Linked DNA regions of Homo sapiens: region 2 is linked to region 1. The links are contacts of gene promoters, found by promoter capture Hi-C in human tissues and cell types (Jung and others, 2019). All regions are on one chromosome and are shown on one strand. Each heading gives the region's core, a stretch centred on a gene start or on the middle of the fragment in contact. The rest is flanking DNA. Distances are from core to core; before and after follow the strand shown. Region 1 holds the start of DIO3 (iodothyronine deiodinase 3). Region 2 overlaps LINC02320 (long intergenic non-protein coding RNA 2320).

The links. The method cuts DNA at HindIII sites, captures the fragments that hold promoters and counts their contacts. A contact is called where the count stands out against the background at its distance.
Region 2: a contact is called between a fragment that was not itself captured here and the fragment with the promoter of DIO3 in region 1, in 2 of the 25 tissues and cell types used here (mesendoderm cells and pancreas).

The regions. Positions count from the first base shown.
Region 1 is chr14:101,559,497-101,564,829 of GRCh38, forward strand. DIO3 (iodothyronine deiodinase 3) reads left to right here and starts at 1,999. Exons shown (of 1, transcript NM_001362.4): 1 at 1,999-3,956. The coding sequence starts at 2,001. The coding sequence ends at 2,915. DIO3OS (DIO3 opposite strand upstream RNA) reads right to left here and starts at 926. Exons shown (of 2, transcript NR_152588.1): 1 at 756-926. It overlaps MIR1247 (microRNA 1247), which reads right to left and starts at 926; the gene lies at 791-926. The HindIII fragment of the contact is 20,870 bases long and covers 1-5,333 here.
Region 2 is chr14:101,631,141-101,636,473 of GRCh38, forward strand. It overlaps LINC02320 (long intergenic non-protein coding RNA 2320), which reads right to left. Exons shown (of 6, transcript NR_184269.1): 2 at 4,176-4,348; 3 at 3,303-3,539; 4 at 1,766-1,975; 5 at 1,273-1,446. Among named protein-coding and RNA genes, the nearest start is that of DIO3, 72 kb to the left of the region's middle. The HindIII fragment of the contact is 8,632 bases long and covers 1-5,333 here.

The DNA of each region.
Region 1 (5,333 bases), core at 749-3,248:
AGAGAAATCGCCTGACTGGGAGATGGAGAAGAGGGGCCACCTTCTCATGCCACCCCGCCGCCAATCCTCCAGGCACACTCGGGCGCTTGACCTGCTGAAGCCTGTAGCCTCAGGTCCAGTGAGGAGCTCACGGGACAGAGGGCCCTACCAGAGCCACGAAAACCGGAGGGGGGGACCTCCGCCCAAGGCAGGCGTCTCTGCGCGCCCGCTGGGGCCCTGGTCCTGCAGTTGGCTTCTCCCGACACGTTCCTTCGCTGCCGAAAGCGATTCGCCCGCGCTCTACCGAGCCCAGCCAGCTCCTACCTCGGCCCGGGCGGCGAGCGCTGTCTCCGTCCCGAGAAGAAGTTTCGCGGCTGGTCCCGGGGCGGCAGGCGCACGGGACGCTGGCGGCGGCGGCGGCTTCCGACTTGGGCTCAGACCCCGCCGCTCCAGACAAGTCCCCGCGACTGCGACAGTGTCTCGGGCAGTTCAGCTCCCCAGACGGGAGACAGACCCTCGCGACCTGGTTCAGGCCTTGCCCTGGGGGACACTGCAGTCCAAGGCGAAAGGAGACTTGCTCCCGGCCTCTGGGTCCCTAGGTCAAGGCACCTCCCCGCCCCGCCGCCCCTGAGCCCAAGTCGCCAACCCCGCGCCGCGCGCAGCGAGGGATCAGAAGGTCTCGGACGCCGCGGCAGGGCCGGCCAGGGCCCCACGAGTTAGGGAGTTGCCCCGCACCCCTAAACGCTCAGCACCCATTTACGGTTGAAAGTACGCACTTGACGCGTCCGGGCGCCTCCGCGGTGAGTCGCGCCGCCGCTCTCGGGGTCCGCGAAGGTGGCTCAGTTCGGGCGCTCCAGTCTCGACGTTCCCGGGGTAGAGAGCAACGTCCGGGGACGAACGGGACGGGTGCGCCCAGCGGCCGGGGCTGCGCTGGGCGAGGCAAGCGGCGAGAGGGGAGCGCTCCGGCGTTCAGGCAACAGCTACCCCTAGTGGGAGAGCCGCCCGGGGCCGGCGCCGCCCCGCGCCCGCTGCCCCGCGCCCCACGCCCGTGGCGCCCCGCGCCCGGGTCGGCTGGGGGCGCAGGGCCGGCGCCGCTTTCCCCAGCTCTCCGGTCTCCGGCGCCCGGCGGTAACCCGCCCGCGGGCTCTGCCCTCCGCACCTCTCAGCCCGGCCCCGGCGGCCGCTGACCCAGGAACCGCGGCGCCCCGCTGGAACGAGATGGGACGGGGCGGGCGCGGCCAGGGCGGCGCGGGCTGGGGCGGCGCGCGGCAGCCTCGGGCAGCGGCGGGGGGCGCGGAGCGCGGTGTGCGTGGCGGGGCGGTGCGGGGGGCGGCCGTGTGCGAGGCGCGAGTGTGAGCGCGCGCGGGAGGCGGGCGGGCGGGCTCCGGCAGGCGAGCGGCGCCCGCGGGCGAGCCAGGAAGGCGGCGGGAACGCAAAGTTGCCTCCTCGCTGGCCCGCGTCCTCGGTGGGGCGGGAGCCGGGGCCACCGAAGCGGCGGCCGCGGACCCGGCCTCCCGCGGCACCTGGGCAGCGGCCCCGCACGAGCGGCAGCGGCGTGGGCGGCGTTGGCGGCGGCGCGCGGGAAGCGAACCGGAGCTCCGGCGCGGCTCGGCGGCCGCCGGGGAGCTCGGCTCAGGTGCGCGGCGAGGGGGGCGCGGGCCGGAGCCAGGCGGCGGGGACCAGGGCGGCGCGCAGCGCTCGCGCCAGCTGGAGGACCTCCCCAGCGGACGCCCAGGTCCCTGGTCGGGCTCCCGGTCCCCAGCGGCAGCGGCTGCCGGAGTCCCCCGCCCCCGAGAGCTGGCTGCGGGGCCCGGGCCCGCCCCCACCGGCCCCAGGCCCGGCCGCTCCGCCCTCCGCCCGCCTGCGCCCGCCCTCAGCCCAAGATTTCTAGGGCATTGGCCGCGCTGCTGGGTGATCCCTCCGGGCTCAAGTTGCAAGGGGGCGGGCCGGGCCGGAGGTGGAGTCTCCCGCCAATTGAAGCCTCCGCTATAAATTGAACTCCCTGCACTGCTGAAGCCCAGATGCCTCGCCAGGCCACGTCGCGGTTGGTGGTCGGAGAGGGCGAGGGGTCCCAGGGGGCTTCGGGGCCTGCAGCCACCATGCTCCGCTCCCTGCTGCTTCACTCCTTGAGGCTCTGCGCCCAGACCGCCTCGTGCCTCGTGCTCTTCCCGCGCTTCCTCGGCACGGCCTTCATGCTCTGGCTTCTCGATTTCTTGTGTATCCGCAAGCATTTCCTGGGCCGCCGCCGCCGGGGGCAGCCCGAGCCCGAAGTGGAGCTCAACAGTGAAGGCGAGGAGGTGCCTCCCGATGACCCGCCCATCTGCGTGTCCGACGACAACCGCCTGTGCACCCTGGCGTCGCTCAAGGCGGTGTGGCATGGCCAGAAGTTGGATTTCTTCAAGCAGGCGCACGAGGGCGGTCCGGCGCCCAACTCCGAGGTGGTTCTGCCCGACGGCTTCCAGAGCCAGCACATCCTCGACTACGCGCAAGGGAACCGCCCGCTGGTTCTCAATTTCGGCAGCTGCACCTGACCACCGTTCATGGCGCGCATGAGCGCCTTCCAGCGCCTGGTCACTAAGTACCAGCGCGACGTCGACTTCCTCATCATCTACATCGAGGAAGCGCACCCCTCCGACGGCTGGGTCACCACGGACTCTCCCTACATCATCCCACAGCACCGGAGCCTGGAGGACCGGGTCAGCGCAGCGAGGGTACTGCAGCAAGGTGCACCCGGCTGCGCTCTGGTCCTCGACACCATGGCCAACTCCAGCAGCTCGGCCTATGGCGCCTACTTCGAGCGTCTCTATGTCATCCAGAGTGGCACTATTATGTACCAGGGCGGCCGTGGCCCCGACGGCTACCAGGTCTCTGAGCTGCGCACTTGGTTGGAACGCTATGATGAGCAACTGCACGGCGCTCGGCCCCGGAGGGTGTAAACATCCAACGGACAATTGACTGAACTTGGTGGGCTGGGCCTTCGAGCCTTCGAAGCCCACGTGCAAGCGCCTCAAACCAAGTCACGCTTGGCGAGGCCCCAGTGACACTGATGTGCTGAGCCACCATTTCAGACTGAGTCTGCACCCTCAGCCACATGAACAATCTCCCCTACCTCCCTGGGACTCTGCTTCTGTAACTGTCTCATTCACACCTGCCTGGCTCACTGGAAATCCTCTTTTGAGCGCGGGATATGGCTTGCCCTTGTCCGTGTGCCCCCAGGACTTTGCCTCTACAGCATTTTCTTACACCCCCTCCCCAGCGTGCCCTCAGCCAAGTGCTTTGGCCCGGTGCTTCCCGCAGCTGCACAGAGACCTTGGCCACGCCCGCGCGCCCTGAGCGCAGCTGGGTTCCAGGAGACTCTCAGCTCAGCTGAGCTAGTTGCCTGGCACCCACCTGTCGCGCGCGGAGAGGGGGTTCCCTGTTGCTTTTGTGTCTGTTTCCTGTCCCTGGTAGGGGAAGTGATGTCGTGGATGGGGAGGGGTGGGCAGGGTAGTTTCCCCCGCTTGTTTTGGGTGCACAGGAGCCCCACTGCTGATGACGAACTATCTCTAACTGGTCTTGACCACGAGCTAGTTCTGAATTGCAGGGGCCTCAAAGCAGCACCTAAACCTTGAGGGGGAGGGTGCTCTGGGTTTCCGTGAGGTAACCACCTTAAATGGGAGGGAAGTTGGGGTGTCTGCTTTGGGACCAGAGGAAGATAGCTTGAGAGGCATTGGCGAGGTTCGCAGCGCCCCAGGGAGAGAGAAAAAGCTGAGACTCCTGGGGAATGACGTTGGGGTGATGGAGTCCGGGGAAAGAGAGGTGGGGGGAGAGCCTGAGGTCCCCAAGTGAGGGGAGTCCTAGGCAGAGCTGCTGATTGTGGGGCTGGGAGGTGGAGGGCCCCTGATTCGAAGGCCATTTGGTGAGTGTTTTGCTGGAAATATTTCCTGTATATAAACTTCTTTCAATCTACAATAATAAAGGCTTGAGGTAAACTGCTTTCTGGTTGCCTTTGGTCCCTTTATTTTCTTTTCCCTCTGAATAGCGGCAGGAATTAAACACAAATCCCTCCCTCGCGTCCCCATAGTGACCTTGGGAAGCGGGACGGGAAGGAGCCTAGGCTGGCAGGGGCGCTGGAGGAGGATGGAGGAGGAAGAGGGTCTGCGGCGGTGCCCGGGGCGCTCCTACAACCGCACGCACCCACCTGGACGGGGAACTTAGCTGCGGGAGAAGAGCGAGGTAGCGGAGCGCCGCGGGATCCTGGAAAGCGGCGGGAGAGGCAAGGGGGCCCTCTCTTGCTCCCGCGCGCGCACACACAGACCGAACAGATGCAGCTGCCCCTGCAGCCGCCGATCCAACTTAACTGAGTATCCGGCGGTGTGTGGAGGGGGTTGGGTGAGGTGGAGGGCGAGAGGGGCTTTGGACCCGGTACAGCCTGGCTCCCGACCGCTGCAGGCACCACTGCGCACCTGACTCCTCCCTGGCCCCCTTCCGGCACCTGCAACCTTGCCTCTTGCCCACCCGCTCCAGGCAGCTGAGGTCCGCTGGAGGCGCGCCTTGGCAGAGGGGCGCCCTCACTCCAGCTGCGGCTCCTACTGCCGGGCCAGCGTGCTGCTGGGTGCGCCCCCTGCCCAGGACCCCCCTCCTCCTGTCCCTCCTCCGCTTCCCCAAGCTCCAGTCAAACCCCACCACCCGCTCCGTGCTGGGAAGCAGAGGTGGGAGGCCGCTGGGATGAAGAGAGAGAGACCAGGGAGAGGTGAATGGTGGATTCCAGGGCTGGGGCGGGGATTCGGGGCCTTAGGCACAGGTCCCCTCTTGCAGTCACGGCCAGGGGCTCGCTCTCGCGCAATCCCCGCCCTCACTGTCTCGCCTGTTGCGCCCGGAGTGAGGGCGACCCGGGGGACGCGGGATTAGCTTAGCCCGCAGCCCCTGTGCCAGCGAAACCTTGAACATTAAGTGAAAGGTGGGGGACACAGTGAAAGCCGCTGAGGCGGGAGTGTACGGATCCAGGTGAGGGGACTGGGCACGGCAACTTCCCTGGCGCGCCAGGACAATGCCTGGGAACCCAGGATTGTCAGGGTCGCCGGGGGTGGGGGTGAGTAGTGTCGGTTTGCGCGCTTGGATGTGAGCGCGGGTGTACATGGCAGGGTTGGGTAGGGGTGCAGAGGGGCGCGGCAGGCAGGATGGAAGAGACGCCCCCGTTCAGCCAACGGCGTCCCTAATTCTGCGCCCAGCCCCCGCGCTGCTCCTCCGTAAAAACTTTTTGAAACTGACATCCTAAATTTGTGGATTTTTTTTTCCTTTAAAAGTATCTCAATTGAAAAATAACTTTAAAGAAAACTTTGGCACCCACGAAATTTCTGCATCTCCTCCCCACT
Region 2 (5,333 bases), core at 1,336-3,835, 72 kb after region 1:
TTCAAATGATCTATGGTTCACATACCTGTGAGGGTTTTATAGAGATGCTGAAACGCTGCTTAGAAGAGAGAAACACACATGTCAACAACGTGAAGTGAAAAAAAAGAAACAAGATTAAAAACTGTGTCTGCACGGGTGAGCATAATGAATGGAAAACAAAGCTAAATTATGTAGAGGAAAAAATACTCAGGAAAACAAACACAGTGAAATGTTGACAGAAGTGTTTCTTGTTGGCAGAGCCATGGGATTTTCTTCCTTATTCACTTACTTAATACATATTTATTGAGCACCTACTACGAGCCCAGCCCTGTCTGAGGCATTAACAGCACAACTGCTATTTCTACTGCCTATATTTTCCCAAATGTGTTTAAAACTGTTTTAAAACTATGTATTTTTTTCTTATTTTTGTTTGTTTGTTTGTTTGTTCTGAGACAGGCTCAAGTGATCCTCCCACCTCAGCCTCCCCAGTAGCTGGGACTACAGGCGTGCACTACTACACCCCACTAATTTTTGTATTTTTTGTAGAAACAGGGTCTCGTTGTGCTGCCCAAGCTAGCCTCGAGCTCCGGGCCTCAAGCAATCCACCCACCTCAGCTTCCCAAGCTCTGGGATTACAGGTGTGAGCCACCGTGCCCAGCCAAGTATAATTTTTTTTAATGACAGGGTACATGTTTCACCTGCCACGTTGCCAACAAATAAACATAAGACGCTCTGTTGGTGAGGAGAGGATATAGGAACACCAGCCCCGCCTGGCAGAAGAATGAATGACCACGACCAATAAAGGACCAGTTATCAACACTTAAAACCGACATACTTTTTCCCAGCAATTCCACCTGTAGTCATTGTCCCTACTGGGATTCTCTCCCACCTTTGTCGTGGGATGTTTACGAAGCTTGTTTACCGTGGCATGTGACTGCTGGAACCCCGAATGGTCCTCGCCAGGGGATGGCTACCCAGATCGTGGTTCAGACTCAGGAAAACACTGAGCCCTGAGAAGAACGAGGCGATCTGCCAGTGTGTGGAACACTAAGCTGAGGTCCCTAAGGGACAGAGCAAGGCGGATCACTTGAGATCAGGAATTCGAGACCAGCCTGGCCAACATGGTGAAACCCTGTCTCTACTAAACATACAAAAATTAGCCGGGCGTGGTGGCGGGCACCTGTAATCCCAGCTCCTTGGGAGGCTGAAGCAGGAGAATCCCTTGAACCTGGGAGGTGGAGGTTGCAGTGAGCCGAGATCATGCCCAAGATCTCTGCTCTTCCCCCGTCTTGCCTTAGTGATCCTGGGCATGTCCCTTCACCTCTGCGGCCTCAGTTTCTCATCTGCACAGTGAAGATGCTGATGCCCGCCTGGCTGATGCCCGCCTGGCTGCTTCCTGGACAGATTTCCCAGGATGTGCTGTGTGACAGGCCTTCCACACAGGCCCTCAGGCACCTTTTCTTCTTCCTGAGATGGAAACAACAAAAAAGTTGGTGCATGGTCACCAGCGATCCCCAAACTACGACCTCTGCCCTCTTTTCCTGCAGACCCCTCAAAAATCACGAAAGGGGCCCTTGCAATAGGGGGTCTCTATGGACTCAAACAAAGGGCTTTCCCTGGGAGGGGCTGCCGGCCTTTGCCTATAACATGCGTGATGTAGTTTTTAAGACTAGCAAAAGCCCAGCCTGGCATTATCTAGCATTGAGGTACAGCGTCTCACGGAAAGTTCTTTTTTATTCCCCAGGCTGTCCCCTTCTCCTCCATTCCCGGATAAGCCTTCACTCACCTCTGCACCTCACCAGCATCCACTCAGAGAGACCCAGCCCCTCAAACCCAGCCAGCAGGGACCACGCTGCACATTAAGTTTGCTCAACTGCTCCAGGTTATTTGAAAACTTATGAAACCTTTTTCTTAAAAAAATCAAAGTCCCATTGTGAGAGGGAATCCAGTACTTTCTTAAAAGTACTAACTCAGCAGCTGCAGGAATCTTCCTGACCTAAAGAAAGAGGAAGGAGAAAAAACACAATCACCCCTGGCTTCTGACACGCATACTCCTGGCTGGATTCTAGATTAGAACAAAGGGGACATAGGTCACGGAGCCATTTCTGTGCCTAGACACCACCTTTGATTTTGCAGGGTGGCGCACCAGGGCTTAGCCACAAGGGGGTCGTGATTCAGTGGGTATGAACTCCAGTGGGGGAGTGCGGGGAGAGACAGCAGGCCAGTGGTCCTTCGGGGAAGATGCGGGAGGGGGTTCTTTTTTAATTTTTCTGGTCTGTTCCACATAACTGAATGCCAGGGACCCAACCTGGATGGGTAGGGGGTGCCAGGTGCAGACCTGACTCTGCACTAGGAAGGAATGCTTGTCACCACCGGCAGGCATGTGTGCTTCTCAGCCCGTCCCAGAGGACAATCCCGAACCACTGATCCAAAGCCTTAAAACCCTGCAGAACTTTTGACCCAGGCCCCACTGCTAGGAATGAATAACATAGTAAAGATAGGTGGGACGATTGAGCTACCAGCGTGTTTATGACTACCACGTTTTCAGCAGGTGAAGTGCAAAGTGCCTAATGTTCACAAGAGGGGCTGAGTTGAGCAAAAGCAAATTTCAGTTCAGCCATACCCTAAAATATGAATACAAATATTGCCGTGGCTAATACCATGAAAACTTGGTCTCATCAAACCGTCTAGCAGATTACAAGCACTCTGGACAGTATGTTACTATGCAGAGACATAGGAAAATGTCTACGAAGAAATACACCAAAATGTTAATGACAGTCATCTCTGAGTGACTTCTCTTTGTTAATATCTCTGCATGTTCTGATGTTTCCCACAATAAACTGATGTATCTTTTGTTGATTTCAGAGCGTGGCCTTGAGGATGTTCCTTCACCTCTCTGAGCTTCAGGCTCCTCACCTGTACAATGAAGACAGCACCTGCCTCATGGATTTGCTAATATATGCAAAATGCATAGCTTGCTGCCTGGAAGATAATAAGTACCCAAATGTTAGCTGTTTTTATTTTTCGCTCAATTTTCTACATATAAACATGTCATTGTGCTCCGTGCTGGGGATATGGCAGTGACAGCTAAACTCCAGAAGAGAAAGATTAAACCAACACTCACAGACGATTAATCCGCTGCCGTGAGGACCAATGATGTATTCATTACAGTTAGGGATGCTGTGGTGGGGGGCACGTTGAGAGCATTTATCAGGGGAACTTTGTTGAGAGTTTTGATCATTATCTTAAGAGCAACAGGAAGCCTGACATTGAAGGCTTCAAGCAGAGCTGTGAAATCAGAAGTTCATGGTTTAAGAACTCACCATATCCACACCGTGGACTGAGAGGGGCCCCAGGGAGGTGCCTTCCCAGGAGGCTGCTGTGGGGGTGCGAACCACGGAGGAAGTGCTGCCACGGCAGATGGGGCGAAGTGGACAGACCCCAGCCCCTTCAGGAGGTGCAGTTTGCAAAATCTGGACACAGTGATGCCTCGGAGGGGCTTGTGGCGGGATGGTCGGGTGACCCCAGACCTCTAGTCTGATGTAGTGCGCCGATGGTTCCTGGATACAGAGGACTCAGTGGGGAGCAGGTCTGGGGCGTTGCGGAGTGTGTCTAGGGGAGTGTGTCTGGGGACATGCTGGTTTTGGGTTGCCTGGGCGGGGGAGGAGGGTGTCCAAGGGGATGTCCTGGAAGCAGAGCAGTCTGTGGTCGCTTTGAACTCGGGATCCGCGAGACCCCAGGGGTTCACCTCCATTGCATCCGGGAGAGACACCGGTTAGGGGATGCAGGACTCCCCAGCGCTGGGAGCGCGAGGCCTATCTAAAGGCCAGACGTTCTCAGAGTCCGAGGCTCGGGTACAGGTGTTGCGCCTCCGACGTGGAGGGGCGCGGGGCTGGGAGCCCAAGCCAGGTGCGCGGGTGGCCTCGCTGGTACACGAGGCGGCTCGGTCTCAGAGGGTCAGTGGGGGCCGGACCCTCAGCGTTGGTGGCCGCTTTCCTCTAGGGTGGGCGTATGGCCGCCTCCCCCAGGCAGTCCTCCTGCCTTGCCCGCGAGGCCAGCTCAAAAGCCTTTATGCCCGGGCCGCCCGCCAGGGGCGCCCTTCCCAGCCCGCGCTCGCCCGCTCTGCCTCGCCCACGCTCGCCCCCACCCCTGCCCTGAGCCCTGCATCCCGGGAAGCCCCCTCTGCAGGTACTCACTAAACATCGTGGAATGAGGGAAACAGAGACCCGGAGAGAGGAGCGCGGGGAGAAGAGAGCCCACGATGTTCCCAGCCCTTCTCCCAGTGAGATCATGAGTCATTTTATGTTCCAGCGTCTATGCTTCAACACCTTCCAGATTTTCCTCCGTGAGCTGGCATCTCCTCCGTGAGCTGGTGGAGTCAGAAACCAGCATTTTTCTATCACTGTTTCTGAAGATGTGCTGAATACGAACCAAAGACCAGGGCGCTCCGGGGAGGGGACCGGGCGGGCTCTAGCTTTGCGAGGTGCCAGGGGGTGTTGGTAGGGGCCGTGCCTGCTGCTCCCCCAGCGTGGGGCGGTCCTGGCGGTTTTCTGCTTGCCTCCTGGGCTCCCAGACAGCTTCCTCCAGCCCAGCTTCCCTGGCCCTAGAAGGAGTAAGCAGGCAATCCCTGGGATTTGCTTAAACCACCCACACCCCCAAAAATGTGTGTCCCCCTTTACTGGGAACGTGTTTACAGCTGTGTTATGTGGGGGTGTGTCCCATGCCCAGCGTGGGCCCCTGGTGGTGAGTAGTGTTGGGTACAGCTGGGAGCCTGGACTCCACCTCAGCTCTGTCCCTGGTATGTCCAGGGCCATGCCCGAGCCTCCTTTTCCTTGAATGGGACTCACCAGGTACATCTCCAAAGGAGGTTGTGAGCATTAAGTATCCAGGACTTGCCAGGGTGCTGGCACACAGTAAGCGCTCAATAAGTGCTGGCTACTGTGAGAATAACGTGAAGGGAACTGGATGGGGTGCTGGGCCTTGCTTTCCCCAGTTGCCCATACTCTGGCCCTGTGTGGCTTCCTCCTTTGGCCCGGCCAGCGTGGATGTGGTTGAGGATGACATATGTCTGTGGAAGGCCAGCTGACAGGCTCTGGGACAGCCATGACAAGTTAATGAATTCCGCTGTGGTTACTAAGGCACATGTCTGGGCCACGAGGACTTCTGTCTGCCGCACTGACCTTTAAAAGAGCGCCTCTAATACCCACCAATCACTCATGCTCTGATTGAACATTCAGAAGATGAAACCTGTCTGAGCTGAGAGTGATCAGTCATCCCTGCCGCCCCGTCACTGTCACTCCTTTCTGAATCATAATAAAACTTTGCAAAACTCTTTGGTTCACTCAGCAGCCTTT